5 separate regions of the Homo sapiens genome follow, and all the other regions are linked to region 1. Evidence: promoter capture Hi-C in 16 types of primary human blood cells and fetal thymus (Javierre and others, 2016). All regions are on one chromosome and are shown on one strand. Each heading gives the region's core, a stretch centred on a gene start or on the middle of the fragment in contact. The rest is flanking DNA. Distances are from core to core; before and after follow the strand shown. Region 1 holds the start of RASD2 (RASD family member 2). Region 2 has its middle 7.9 kb from the start of RBFOX2. Region 3 overlaps RBFOX2 (RNA binding fox-1 homolog 2). Region 4 overlaps RBFOX2 (RNA binding fox-1 homolog 2). Region 5 overlaps RBFOX2 (RNA binding fox-1 homolog 2).

Region 1 (2,824 bases), core at 160-2,659:
GGTCCAGGGATCTGGAACTGAGGGACACAGACACAGCATCCCATCCCTTTGCTGTATCACACAACGAGAACATTCTCTTTTAAGCCTCCTGATATGTGAAGGAGAAAGTCTCTGTTAGGTGCTAATGGGTATTTAACACCTCTCCAAACCTTGCCAATCTCCCTTTTTCACTGAGGGCACACATCTCAAGCCTTGGCAGGCCACGGTTTCCAGCTGGAATTTAATAACCTTGCTTTGTTTTCACTGTGCTTATTTTAACTCTTACTTTCTATTTATGGCAAGTGATACTGATTTCCCATTTAAGGCAGTGATATAATGATTCTCTAAAAAAACGTGTTTAAGGGGTGGGGAAAGTGGATCTGATATTTTAAAAAATATATTAAGTAATAAGTGGTGTGGAGATATGGCCCAGTGAGAAGGCCCGATGTCTGGCCTAGGTCAAGCCCCTCATTTAAAGGTGGGGAGGGAGAATGCAGGCAGGAGACGCAATGCTCAAGGCACCTGGTGTGTCCCCGTCGGCCGTGGTCTCTGAGACTCGCATGCCTCGAAGACCTCTGGCTACTAAGCCTAGGTGACTCCCCGCCCCTCTGGGCGACACGTGCATGGCCCATGTGCCAGTCCGCAGGGTCCCGTGGGCACCGTGAGCTCGGGAGGGAGGCGGCGGCTGGGACAGGCAGGTTGGACACCTGGGAGGGCACCCGGGGACTTCCGCGAAGGAGGAGGGCGCTGGAACCGTGGCGCGCTCGACCTGGCCGGGCGCAAGCCGCTGGAGACCCCGGCCGAGTGGGCAGGCGGCCGGACCCCATGCGGGTCACCTGCGGCCAGGCCGGGCGTGCGTGTGAGCGCGTGCGCAGACGTCAGCCTCCGAGGCCCGGGCCGCCTTCTGGGCAAGGTGCGCGCGCCCAGCGGCCCCGGCCCCACGCGCCCGGACACGCGGAACCGCAGACCGCGGCGCCCCGGAGGCCGCGAAAGGGATGGGCGGGGCCGGGCCGCGGGACCCGCCTCCCATTGGCCGGGCGCCGGGGCGAGGCGGGGCGCCGGGGTGGGGCGGGGCGAGCGGGCTCTGGGGGGCAGACGCTGGCGCTGGGCGGCGGGAGGCGCGGCTCGCGGGGGGCCGAAGGAGCAGGTGGGCGACGCTCGCAGGGGCGCGGGAGGGTGCCGCTGGGACCGTCATCAGGAGCCTGGGGTTCTGCCACCTTTCGGAGGGATCAGCGACCTCTTCGCCCTGCGGGTGACAGTGGGGCATCTGCCTGCGAGAGGGGGAAGGAGGGAGAACCCAGGGCCACACACAAAGTTCTCCTCATCTGGGGACAGGAGGAGGTGAAGGAGGAGGAGCCGGGTTGATGCTAACTTGGAGCTGCGAAACCTTGGGGCGGCGTTCAAGGCCCCCTCCCACACGCGCGCAGAGCAGAGCGCCCTGCTCCTCCTTCAGCTGCTGGCGTCGCCGCGCGGGGAGAAAGAAGCCGTCCCTCCGGCGCTGGGAGAGCTGCAGAGCCGCGGGCAGAGAAGGAGGCCGCGGCCGAGCCCGGCAGCCCGATACCCCCCATCCGAGCGACCCCCTTTGGGGCAGGCGGAGAAGGTGGCATAGGCGACCAGGAGGGTTCGCCCACCTGGGACACGCACCCACAGTCACCTCCAAAGGACCCCCCCTCCCCAAGTCTCTAGGAGCTGCTCCTTCATCACTGGAGTCGCCCCTACCTCTCTGCCCCCAGCCCGAGAGCCCCAGGCGGGGACCCCCGGATCGGACGTCCCCAAGCCTCCGGGCACCTGGCTCAGCAGGAGGCCCCCGGCTCGGGGCAGGGCAGGGCCGGCGGCGGCGAGCCGGAGCCCGCCCCCTGCCCGGGCCCCGCCGAGCCCTCGGAGCCCACCCATGGGGCACCTGCCCCTTGCGCCTCCTTGCCCGGCCGCGCCCAGCCCGGCGTCCCGAGCAGCGCAGGGGAGGATCCCCGCGCAGTGACCCGGGAGCCACCACAGACTCTGGGAGGCTCGGCGGCTGGAGCAGCAGGCAGCTCCCCGCAGCTCCCGGCGCTTCCAGGCAGCTCTCTGAGCCGTGCCAGAGGCCCGGCCCGCCATTCCCAGGTAGGAGACGCCCCAACAGAGCTGGGCATCTGGGGGAAGTGGAGCAGCCGGGAAGAAAGGGTAGAGGCTTGGAGGAGGAAAGCTCAGTGATTCCTTAGATGACCAGAGAAAGTGAAATTGATTGAGCACCTACTATGTGCCGGGATCGTCTGGCAACTTTGCATACCTAGAGAGAATTAAATTCGTTGAGCACCTACTGTATGTGTCAAACTGAGTGCTATACCCTTGACTTAATCCCAGGAAAGAAAGATTTATTGAGCTTCTACTATGTGCTAGTTTTGGTGCCACAGGCTTTGCATTTAAAGAGCTAGAGTAATAGCCCATTTAAATAGGAGGAAACGGGGGCTCAGGGAAGACGAGTCAACTACCACAAACACTCCTGTCCCTCTTCTGGAGCTGGCTGCAGCCTGCATTACCTGGAGGTGGGGAAGGAAGATTAAGAAGCTCCTTCGTTATCCAGAGTTCTTGAGCTTTTTCTGGGTTGGTGCAGAGTGAGTTTCCTGGATGATTCCCTTCCCAGGAGGGGTTTCCTGTAACTTAGCTGTCTTGGAGGGCCCGGAAGGCAGCTCTGGAGGCCTCTCTGTGCCCTCCCCTCCCCTTGTCCCCAGCACCAGGAGGATGACAGGGGATGTTGTCCAAGACCTCATGGAAGGTGGGAAGCCAGGCTGGGAGGGAGCAGCCAGGTCAGGAGCCAGTGAATCAAGCCTCCTGTGGTGTCAGAGACAAGATGGGGTCCCTGCAAGAC
Region 2 (2,824 bases), core at 102-2,601, 500 kb after region 1:
ATGTTAATTTAGACCCTTTTACTACGCTATTGCATCTACTATCTTTATTAATATGATTATTATATATGCCAAAAGCAATAGGGGTATTACAGAAAGATGTAACTCCGTCTGCCTGGGGGAGAGAGAACAAGTTTCACCCAGAGTGTTACATTTGACCTGGCTCTTTCAAAATGAGGAGGAATTTCCCAGGGAATGGTTTCTGATAAAAGGTAGTAAATTCTTGTGTGCCCTTTCCATGGGCTTAGAAGAGTTTGGCACTGCCCACTGGGTTGCTACCAGGAGAAAACTCAGCACAGGGCTTGGAGTCAAAGGACCAGGACTGGAGTCAGCTGCGGTCTTCAATAGAACAAAGACTGGGAGAGTTAAGTGGGCTGTCCATCTGTGAAAAGCGAGCCAGAGTACCTAGCCACAGGGCTATTGCGAGGTCTTTAGGAGATAAGAGATCTTGGGAAAGATCTATTCAAATGCCAGTTGCAGCTAACCCAGTAGTCTGGTTACCTACAAGCTGGTGGTGTAAAATCTCTTTGCGTTCTTTGAGAACATGATCACTTTCCTAATTCCTGTTTTTTGTTTCTGTGTTCCTAGCACCTAGCACTGAGCTTGACATAAAACTTGGCTATTCCAAGACTCCTGAAGATATTAAAAAACACAACTGCAGACCTAAGATTTTCCCTAGAAAAACAGATAAAGACCCGGAGCAGATAATCTTAAAATACTGTCTTAACCAGGCAGTCCTCTGAATAAAGACAGGGTCTAAGTCCTTCCCCAAAATTGATCACCTCTCTAATCAGAGCGAAGAGAGGAGATATAAATAGAAGAGACCATTTTCTACTCCAAAGCTTTCTTTTCAAAAAAAAAAAAAAAAATTCAGAGAATACCCTTGATAATTCATGGGCCAGAGGAAGTGGAAGCAGCTCCTGCCATGTGCCTGGCTGATCTGGGAGAAGATACAGAGTCTAATGAGAAACTGAATTCAGCAAAAAAGGAACGAGTGATGTTTAAGCCTCATTAGGGCTATAGAACCAGCGTTCTGACAAAAAAATACTCGCTATTGACTTTGACCTCACTTCCCTACCTCCCTCTGTTCGTGGGATTATTGAACCAGGGTTTTTCCTATAGGCCAGAACCTTGCCAGCCCTTTTGCCCTTCACATAATGTGTTTGTCTGGTTTCTATTTCTGTAGTTTGATGAAGGATGATAGCAGGGTATTGAATTGTTGTTTTTCATTTAGTGCAGTCGCCGCCCTCACCCTGCCCACCACCCCCCACCCTGCTCTCAAGTCATTTTCATTGTCTGTTTTTTGCCTTGAGGTTTTTATTGCTTCTTCAGAGTGGAAGAAGGCTTTGTTTTATTTTGTTTTCCAGGCGCTGGTATACATAACCTCATGGATCCATCCTTCCTGCAAAAATTATGGTGTTTCTAAATCGGCAACAATTTCCTTTCACTGGGGAAAGGCAGGGAAGGGTCAGATATTTGCTGAGCCCATAACAACTACCAGGTGCAAAACTAAGTGGGGTTTTTTTGGTTTTGTTTTTTGGATTTTTTTTTTTCGTTTAATCCTCACAACCGACCAGAGAAGCAGGTAGTATTACATCTTATTTTACCGATGAGAAAACTGAGACCCAGAGAGGTGAAACGACCAGCTCAAGGTTACACAAGATGGTTAGTGACAAAGAAACTCTTGTCCCCCCACTCCATGTCCACTGCCTTCCAGTGCTTCACCCTGTGCCTTTCAGAACTTTTTAGGGTGTTTTACTTTGGGCAGATACAAATCTCATAGGGAAGAGGGGACAAAAAAGTCTAACATTTTTTTCTCTGAACCTGAAGTTAATAACTTCTTCATCCTGCTTTCCACTGGGAGCATAAGCTTCTGAATTTTTGTTTTGTTGAGGCATGGGGTCTTCATTGTCTTCCTTGTCCCTGCTGGCACCTGCTCAGGTATCTTCCTCTGGGTCCCTGTCCTGCTGTCAGTATCGATCCGCACTGGGCTCCACCCAGCTGACCTATCTGATCCTTGTTGTTGAGGCACTGAGATTGCCTCTGTCAAGGACATGGGGAAACCTTGGGTTTTCCCACTGTTCTGGGGGCCTTGGGACGCTCCAAGAGGCTGTCTCCAGCCCCTGCAATGTAGACACAGAGGAGGCATCCTTACTCCTTGGACATCGCGCTGGGAGGGGAAACACTGCAAAAGCCACCGCCTCCAGGGCCTGTAAAGAGAAGCCAGGCTCAGGTCTTTGCTCCTTCCAGATGCCACAGTGACCCCTGGGCTCCGTTTCTCCCTCTTTCCTCCCTGAGGCTCCATCTGTAAAGAGGCAAGCGAGGAGGATCCTCCAGAGACCCATACAAGACTCTGGTTCGCCTCCCCTCTCTCCTCAGCCCCTGCTGCCTTTGCCTCTCCCAGGTGGGGCTGCCAAACCTATCCTGGCTGATTCTGCTTCGTTTGAACCTCTGGATTTTGTAGGACATAGACTTCATGTCCAGAATCATGTAGGTTTCAAACTTTTGGAGTACAAAAGATGAGGCTTTTGAAACACAGAGACTTTTCTCTCCAGCCACACATTTCAAAACATATTTTGAAATTCAAAAGCTGAGTTCAGACTCTTCTTCTCTTTGCATTTCCACTATAATAGTTTTATTCCTGAGGGCGAGAACAGCAGAAGATACCTGGGAGAGTGAGGGAGGAAGAACATATGTTAATATTTTTCAGCAATGACAATGTCTGCACTACGTCCTTCTGCTGTGAATTCAGGGAGATAGTTCCAGCCTCCCCGGGAGTCAGGATGGGGATATATGATAACATTCTGGCCAGGGGAAGATGGGTAAA
Region 3 (2,824 bases), core at 130-2,629, 470 kb after region 1:
GAGAGAGAGAGAGAGAGACCACTAATGAAAACTTTAATAGACCTTTTTACATTTGAAAAAGTAGCCTCTGATATAGGAAATGGAGAAAAGCAAGGAGCAAAAAATACAGAGAGTATGCTAATATTTGTGTCAAAAAGAAAGGAGGGGGGATAACAGACAAATTAGTAACAGTGGTTACTTGTTTGGTAAAGGGGATAGGGACACATAGGAAGCAGAAATGAAAAGGAGACATTTCATTACATATGTATTTATGAATTTAGAGTTAGGAATTAACTTACCGGTAGGGAATCTGGGCGTAAATCCTGGTTTGGAAAACGCTACACAATAGTTCAGCATCACAACGTCTGCTTATGAAAAGTGTAGTGTGATAGGTTTTTTTTTTAATGTGTTTAATTCTAATGTCCAAAGTTATTTAACTTTTTTTGGTGGGGGGCTGGGGCATGGGCAGGATGATACCTATTATCATTTCTTTTTTTTTTTTTTATTGAGACAGAGTCTCACTCTGTCGCCCAGGCTGGAGTGCAGTGGCGCAATCGCGGCTCACTGCAAGCTCCGCCTCCTGGGTTCACGCCATTCTCCTGCCTCAGCCTCTCCGAGTAGCTGGGACTACAGGCACCCGCCACCACGCCCAGCTAATTTTTTGTATTTTTAGTAGAGACGGGGTTTCACCGTGGTCTCGATCTCCTGACCTCGTGATCCGCCCGCCTCAGCCTCCCAAAGTGCTGGGATTACAAGCGTGAGCCACCGCGCCCGGCCACCTGTTATCATTTCTTAAAGAGCAATCAATACAATACAGCTTGGGATACTAGAATTAAATAATTTCCTAACTTAAAACAGAATGCTGAATGAGTCAAAATTTTTAGGTTTCTTTAAGCTCGGGGATACCAAAGTATTTACTACTTGCTTCTAACACTGCAAAAAATAACCCATAGTAAAGCTAAAATCCAAAAGGGGTAAATGATACCTACACCAAACTCAAGAAAGTCAAATAAGGGATTCTTAAAATAAGCTTCTCATTATTGAAAAAAAGCAAAGCCTACAGAGTAACACTTATTTCACACCACTCCTAGAGAAAGAAACGCAGAGTAAGCATAAAAGAAAATTGCGCATGCACACACAGATACAGGTTATCTATTAATCATAGCATTTTTATACAGCTGACAAAAATCACTAGAAGTCCCTGATAAGCGCCTCTCTGAAGGGCTACTACATGCACTTAACACACTTTAATGCTTACGTATGAAGGTAGGAAATGCCAAAGTTAACCAACTGATCTCCAACACTGTAAAACACAGCCAGCTCAGAGCTAAAATGCTGCTGCAAAAAGATCTATTCAGTATCATGACAAGCAGCTAAAGACTTTTAACAAAGCAGAGGGACAGAAGATGTCTATAATGAGTAATGAACAGCACCTGGGAATGGAGAGGCGCTAGCTAACAGAAAAATTAGTTTCTAAACCCAAATACAGACCTTTTGAGTATGACCAGCATTACCTCAAAGTCTTGGATGATATCAAAATTTGCCAATTTATTATCAGCTTAATAAGAGTCATGTATGAAACTATGACTTCTAGTTCAAATATAACACAAAACATAGTAAAATCTTATGTAAGTATGTAACTAATGCAGACATATATGAAACGGACTGCTTAAGCAATAGCTGAATAGCAGTACTCTGCATTCTTTTAAACAAGGTGTGCATAGCATAAGACCAGGGTCAGACTTTCAGGACAAGTACTACCAACTCCCTGTAAGCTTTGCCAAAGGGGAAACTTCCTGAAGTTCCAACAAAGTCTTCAAACCCACTGTGCCAGCCACTAACAGTAACCATGTTCCTGGAAGCTTGTATATGAGAAGCAAACCAATGAGTTAAGCTTTGTGGATGTTGGGAGCCACCACAAAACATCTTTCAATTTTGCCAGTTTTCACTTTGAAATCACACAATCCTATCTTATCCCCTAGAAACTAAGAAACAGCAGGTGAAAGCTGTCAAAGCCACATATTCAGACTAATTAGGGGACAAGCCAGTCTGATTAGGGGATAGCGACCTCATTTGCAGATGCTTTTGCAGATGAAGGAGAAGCTGAATATGGAGAAATTTAATCGGGGCAGGGGGCTAAAAAAAGATCTACAATTCCTGCCTTTTACCCGAAATTATTACTTACCCTCCCAAGAATTTTTGTGGACCACTGAACTGAAGAAGGAAAAGAAAGAAAAAGGGAGAAAACAAACTTTAGGCTGTAAGTGTGACTGTATAAAAATCCCTGAGAGGATGAATTATGAAACTAAACTCCATGCAACAGGGCTAACTATGTAGCTGCTTTTCCACTTGCCTAATGGCCCAAGACAAATAGAGCAGGGCCATCCAGGAGTCCCAACAACTTCCAGGAAAATGGAACCAACGTCCTCCTGTCTCAGAACAAGCCACATACCCCCTGAAAGTAACCCCTAAGTGAAATCCATATAGATCTGCTTTGAAAATCACTCTGGCTGGCAACAATTAAGGCCCACTCCTTCAAACAATTCCAATTTGTATGGGAAAAAGCTTCTTAAAAGAAAAAAAAAAGCAATTGAAAGAAATTTCTATGAGCCTCTGCCCAAAAGTATTCCAACTCAAGCAACTGCTGCAGGCCACATTCAGACACCCCCAGTCTCCCCAGGCCCTGTCTGTAGTTCCTCTAGTTTTACTCACATAGCTTCTGCCTCCACCCCAATCCCCAGAGCTAGGAGAGTCCCACGGCCACACCACCCATCCCTCATGATAAATCATGCTTTGCTTGTGGTATTTCCAGTTAGAATCTGACAAAAATCAATGCAGCCAGAAA
Region 4 (2,824 bases), core at 129-2,628, 440 kb after region 1:
TCAGTATTTTCAAAGCTAATTGTAACAAGCAAAATTCAGATCTATGATCTTTTATTGTCTTTAGTATCTTTTCCCTTTTGATGTCAGGAACAGAAAAAAAAAAAATCAAATTTTCATGTTGTGCCAAAAATGAGTTCCCACTTGATCACTAGTGTTTTCTGTTTGACCCAACATATATTCCAATTTGATTTCTGGTCAAACTATTACCAGCTCAATCACTAATTCTGCTGTCATTCCAGACTTGTTACTGTTATTTTACTTAATACTGAGGAGATACAAGAAGAATATTTATAAATTATGTGAAGGATATAAAGAATAACAAAAACATATGCCATTAGAATTCTAGTTTTTCCTCCACCTCCTGCTCCCACCCCCAAATGTATTTTCCTACATGGGCTGAGCCCCTCCTTCACTACTGTCCTTAAAGATCTGAATTTAAGTCCTAACTCTGCCACTTCATGACGCATATAATCTTCAATAAATCGCATCCCCTCTCTTAAGGCTATCTCCTACCTATCAAATGAAAAGGCTGAACAACATGGTTACTAACGTTGTTTTCAGCTCCCTGTTTGATTTCAGCTAGGTTCAACACTTTTCATGTTAAATCCCCCTGACTCCTTATCTTTCTATTTTACACAATTCTAGTAGCCATTATCCCACCCCTGAATTTGCTATACCAAATCCTCCAACCAAAAACTCTGACCACCACCACCACCACCCCCCCCTCTTAATTCTTCCCTCAGTCCTTCCTTCCTGTTCTCAACAAGTACCTCCAGTCACTGAGGAGAGATAATTACACTTGATCCTCCAAGATCTCCACCTCCCTCAACATCTAGATCCATCCTTTCACAAATATTTCCCTTGTGTATTCACAGCACAAGGGCTAAAAAGGAAAGCCCCCAAGAATTCAATCCAACATTTTTATATATGAAACAAGCCACATTTATAATATAAAAGTAATAACAGAATGAATGAAAATATTTACAAATGTGTATCGGAAAAAGGATTTGCTACATATATAAAGAATTTCAAAATGAACTCAGTAAGAAAACGAACCACCCGGCCAGGAACAGTGGCTCACATCTATAATCCCAGCACTTTGGGAGGCCAAGGCGGGTGGAACACCTGAGGTCAGGAGTTCAAGGCCAGCCTGGCCAACATGGCGAAACCTCGCCTCTACTAAAAATACAAAAAATTAGCTGGCCACAGTGGCGTGTGCCTGTAATCCCAGCTACTTGGGAGGCTGAGGCAGGAGAATCTCTTGAACCCAGGAGGCGGAGGTTGCAGGGAGCCAAGATCGCGTCACTGCACTCCAGCCTGGGCGACAGACCGAGACTCCGTCTCAAAAAAAAAAAAAAAAGAAAAAGAAAAGCAAATGAACCACTCATTTTAAAAAAATGTGCAAAACATTTAAACAGACCCATCATCAAAGAGATATGACTGACAAATATGCAAATGAAAGATGCTAAACATCATTAATATTTAGGAAAATACAAATTGAAGCCACGAAGAGATATCCATTATATACCTATCAGAAGGACTCTCATTTTTTAAAAAAACAACGGACAATACCAAATAGTGGAAAGAATGTAGATATATTCATTGCTGACAGGAATCCAAAGTGGTACAGCCACTTTGGGAAACAGTTTGGCAGTTTCTCATACACTTAAACACTTCATATACACTTATATGACCCTGCAGCATTCCCAACCTTAGGTATTTACCCAAGAGAAATGAAGCTACTCAACAGCAAAAAAGGAATGCATTACTAATACCTAAAACAGTACAGACGAATCTCAAAAGAATTACACTAAGTGAAAGAAGCCATACTCAAAAAGCTACATAATACATGATTCCATTTATATAACATTTTAGAAATGGCAAAATCATAGGAACAGAAATCTGATCAGTGATGCCAGTGGCTGCGGATGCGAAGAGAGAACTAACTGTGAAAGAGCCTGAAGAAACTTTCTACGGTAATGGACGCATTTTATATCTTGATTGTGGTAGTGGTTACATGTCTATATTACATTTGTCAAAATTCATAGAAATGTAGCCTTAAAAGAATGAATTTTACTGCATGTAAATTATACCTGAATGAACTATATATATATATATATATATATATATATATATATATATACATGCACACACACACATATACATATGTGTATACGTATAAAATCCCCCTCAAAAAAAAAAAAAGCCCTGTCCCCCTTCCGTCACAGAGGAGTTAGCACAGCAGCCAAGGACACAGGTAGGTGAGCAGCTGAGGAATCAAGGATGCACAGGACAGCAGGCCCAGAGGCCAAAGATAAGAGTGGTTGGGGGTCAGGGGGCACTGGAAGACTACAGGTAAAGCTGGGAAACTCTAGGGAGATTAGGAAGCCACAAGGAAGAATGGGCCAAAGGAGCCCATTGACTGAGGATTCCAGAACATGAGGAGTAGGGTACAGAGGTGGTGGAGTCAGCCATCGCGGTTGGAAAACTGGCTACACTGAGCAAATAAGTAAACATATTGGGGATAAGGGGAGCCAAGTTTTTCCCTACTGGAGAATATATTTACAAATATGGAAAGAGGTTGGCTGCATTTAATGGAGTTATCAGTGTGAATTCATGATTTTATAATATAAAATGCATTGTTTTATAATTTAAAATATGTAACACACACACAAACATCATGCATGTATATATACGTATATAGCACAAAGAGATATGGAAATATAGATGTATATGTGGTATATATGTGTTTATGTACATATGTATGTACACATACACACAATTTCTAGCTGTTTGCTGAGACAGCCTAGAGGCAAGGACACTC
Region 5 (2,824 bases), core at 163-2,662, 380 kb after region 1:
CTATCACCCCTTAGTAAATAGGGAAGCAAGTGGGAAGCAAGTGGGGAACATAATGTTTGCTGCTGAGCAAAGAAAAATTAAGCATGCAAGTAAAATGCAAAAAAAAAAAAATTCAAATAAAAGTAAATAAATGCCCAGTGCAAATATCAACCCTGGAATTTAACACATTTATTTTAAAACCCAGATTCACTCATTAACAACTACATAGCCTTGGACAATGACTTAATCCCTTTGAGCCTTGGTTTCCTCACCTGCAAATGGGATTTAAAAACTACTTGCTTTATACAGTGCCTGCACATAGTCAGTATTCCACCTGTTAGCCCTCTTTTCATTAGGACACCCCCTGTCCCATGCCGAGACGTGTGTTACTCTGAAATTAAGATAATGTATGGGTTCCCTGTACCAATAATAGAATACCAGAATTAAAGAGCTAAAAGTATCTTTATCTTAAACGATCCTGTGATCCACACGACACCACAAAGCTTGTGAGAGCACAGGCTAAAGACACACTAAGGGAACAAAGATCCTAATGTAGTAATAGGAGATACATGGGAAAAGTTCTACTAATTCAATAAGTATATTTATTGAGTGTCTTAAGAGCCTTCTATGGCTCCATAAAATGACAGATTTACATTTAATATCCACTTGACCAAACCCATTAAACTTGTAAGAGGCACTCTCTTGCTGAACATCAGATATCTAGCTTCTTAAGTATTAATTTTTCATATCGCTCTGGCAAGGCAAAGGCAATAAAAACCTAGTGAAAGTCTGACCACAGTTTTGCTTTTTCCCCCACTTTGTCCATAAGAGAAAATCCAAATGGAGTAGTCTCTGTATTTCAACAAGCTGAAGTTGAGTTTATTTAATTTATCCCGTTACCACACTTTACCAAATTCATATTGGGCACATACTTTGTGCAAAGTATTCAAGAAAACTAAGAAGCATGAGAGAACTCTTGTTCTTACAGAATTCTGTGTGTTGGTCAAACCTTTTCACCATAATGCAATAGGCAGTGATAAAGTACTATTACAAAGTAGGAGGCTGGGCTGGGCATGGTGGCTCACGCCTGTAATCCCAGCACTCTGGGAAGCCGAGGTGGGCGGATCACTTGAGGTCAGGAGTTCAAGACCAACTCGAACTGGCCAACATGGTGAAACCCCATCTCTACTAAAATAAATATATATATATATAAAAGTTAGCCAGACGTGGTGGCGCATACTTGTAATCTCAGCTACTCGGGAGGCTGAGACAGGAGAATCACTTGAACTCAGGAGGCAGAGGTTGCAGTGAGCCGAGATCCAGCCGCTACAATCCAGCCTGGGCAACAGAGCAAGACTTTATCTCAAAAAATAAAAATAAAAAATAAAAAAATTTAAAAAAAAAGTAGAAGGCCGGGTGCAGTGGCTCACACCTGTAATCCCAACACTTTGGGAGCCTGAGGCAAGAGGATTGCTTGAGCTCAGGAATTCAAAACCAGCCTGGGCAACATAGCAAGACGCTGTCTTTACTAAAAATAAAACATTAAAAAATTAGCTAGGCGTGGTAGCACATGCATGCCTGTAGTTCCAGCTACTTGGGAGGCTGAGGTGGGAGGATCACTTACTTGAGCCCAGGAGTTCGAGGCTCCGCCACTGCACTCCAGCCTGAGGGACAGAGAGAGATCCTGTCTCCAAAAAAAACACAAAAAGCAAAGTAGAAAGCATGTGCCCTGGGACACTGAGTCAGCTCGCAAATAAATGCACTAGCCAAAACCTCAAGGAGAAGGTAGCATTTGAAGTGAGATTTAAAGGACGACCTGTATTTAAACATGGGACATGGGAAATAGTGTAAGTAAAGGAATTAGAATTCAAACCCACATTTAATTCCAAAGCTACGCTACCCCACCCCACAGTGTGGCTTGAACAGAGTACCTTACACAAAACAGAAGGAAAAAGACTGAGGCCATATCACAGAAGGCTTAGGATATCACACTAAAGAATATTCAGCAGATAAAAGCTAAGCAGAGTAATGAGACTCCAGTGAGATCAGAGCTGTTTAAATGCATGATTACATAGTACTTGCTGAGAGTATTTTCTGGTGGTACCAAAGTTTCTAACACAAGATCTTAAGTTACCTGTTGTATTCCCCTGTCTCTCTAATCAACCCTAGATGAGATCAGTATAATAGTATGCAGCTAATGCTATTAAGAAAATTAAAATATTTAATCTGTAACTGAAACCCGTAACTATATTGTCCACCAACTATGAGGCCTTTTGTCTTACCTTATACTTAATTAGTTGGTTTCATTCTAAATCATCTGCCAGTGACTGTCTGTTGAAGAACAAAGCACTGAATAAATATGTCAAGCTTCTTAAATGTAACTCACAAAATGGTAGCCAGAATTGATTATAAAAGACCATCGATTGCTTGGTAGTACTAACCGCTACAGCAAGAATATCCCTACTAACTACTTAGCTGCCCTAACCAAGTCTAGTCAGATGAATTTCTCGATTTTGAAAATTGCTAATGGAAATTCTATAATTTTCCTTTGTAAATGGCCCTATCTTTAGTCAGATAATTCTTTTTGATGGTCACATTAAACCTCTCATTACAATACAAATCAATTGCCTATATACAAAATAACAGGTCAATCTATTGAAAAGTCAATCAGTGAAATTATGATCCATCCATTAACAAAATATTTAAGCAACTGGGTCATGAGTGGACTAACAATCACAGCTCAACAATCCCAGCAACCCTAAACTAAGCAAAAAGAGGCAAAGCTAGGGGGAAAAGTCAAACTGCGGCATAAAAGGCAAGATGTGACAAACCAGGTACAGAAGAG

What was found. Contacts are between HindIII fragments. The CHiCAGO score rates a contact against its expected background, and 5 or more counts as called.
Region 2: a fragment that was not itself captured here is called in contact with the fragment with the promoter of RASD2 in region 1 in 1 of 17 cell types (M1 macrophages); the score reaches 5.0 in M1 macrophages.
Region 3: a contact is called between a fragment that was not itself captured here and the fragment with the promoter of RASD2 in region 1, in 1 of 17 cell types (M1 macrophages). The highest score is 5.4, in M1 macrophages.
Region 4: a fragment that was not itself captured here is called in contact with the fragment with the promoter of RASD2 in region 1 in 1 of 17 cell types (M1 macrophages); the score reaches 5.4 in M1 macrophages.
Region 5: a fragment that was not itself captured here is called in contact with the fragment with the promoter of RASD2 in region 1 in 2 of 17 cell types (M1 macrophages and M2 macrophages); the score reaches 5.2 in M1 macrophages.

What each region holds. Positions count from the first base shown.
Region 1 is chr22:35,539,422-35,542,245 of GRCh38, forward strand. RASD2 (RASD family member 2) reads left to right here and starts at 1,410. Exons shown (of 3, transcript NM_014310.4): 1 at 1,410-2,079. RefSeq lists enhancers at 72-634, 635-1,197, 1,198-1,760 and a silencer at 882-1,101. The HindIII fragment of the contact is 7,504 bases long and covers 1-2,824 here.
Region 2 is chr22:36,035,299-36,038,122 of GRCh38, forward strand. No RefSeq gene overlaps it. Among named protein-coding and RNA genes, the nearest start is that of RBFOX2, 7.9 kb to the left of the region's middle. RefSeq lists an enhancer at 1-672. The HindIII fragment of the contact is 1,028 bases long and covers 838-1,865 here.
Region 3 is chr22:36,013,654-36,016,477 of GRCh38, forward strand. The region is part of intron 1 of RBFOX2 (RNA binding fox-1 homolog 2); the gene reads right to left. Among named protein-coding and RNA genes, the nearest start is that of RBFOX2, 14 kb to the right of the region's middle. The HindIII fragment of the contact is 745 bases long and covers 1,008-1,752 here.
Region 4 is chr22:35,975,620-35,978,443 of GRCh38, forward strand. The region is part of intron 1 of RBFOX2 (RNA binding fox-1 homolog 2); the gene reads right to left. Among named protein-coding and RNA genes, the nearest start is that of RBFOX2, 52 kb to the right of the region's middle. The HindIII fragment of the contact is 3,382 bases long and covers 1-2,824 here.
Region 5 is chr22:35,923,848-35,926,671 of GRCh38, forward strand. The region is part of intron 2 of RBFOX2 (RNA binding fox-1 homolog 2); the gene reads right to left. Among named protein-coding and RNA genes, the nearest start is that of RBFOX2, 100 kb to the right of the region's middle. The HindIII fragment of the contact is 1,864 bases long and covers 481-2,344 here.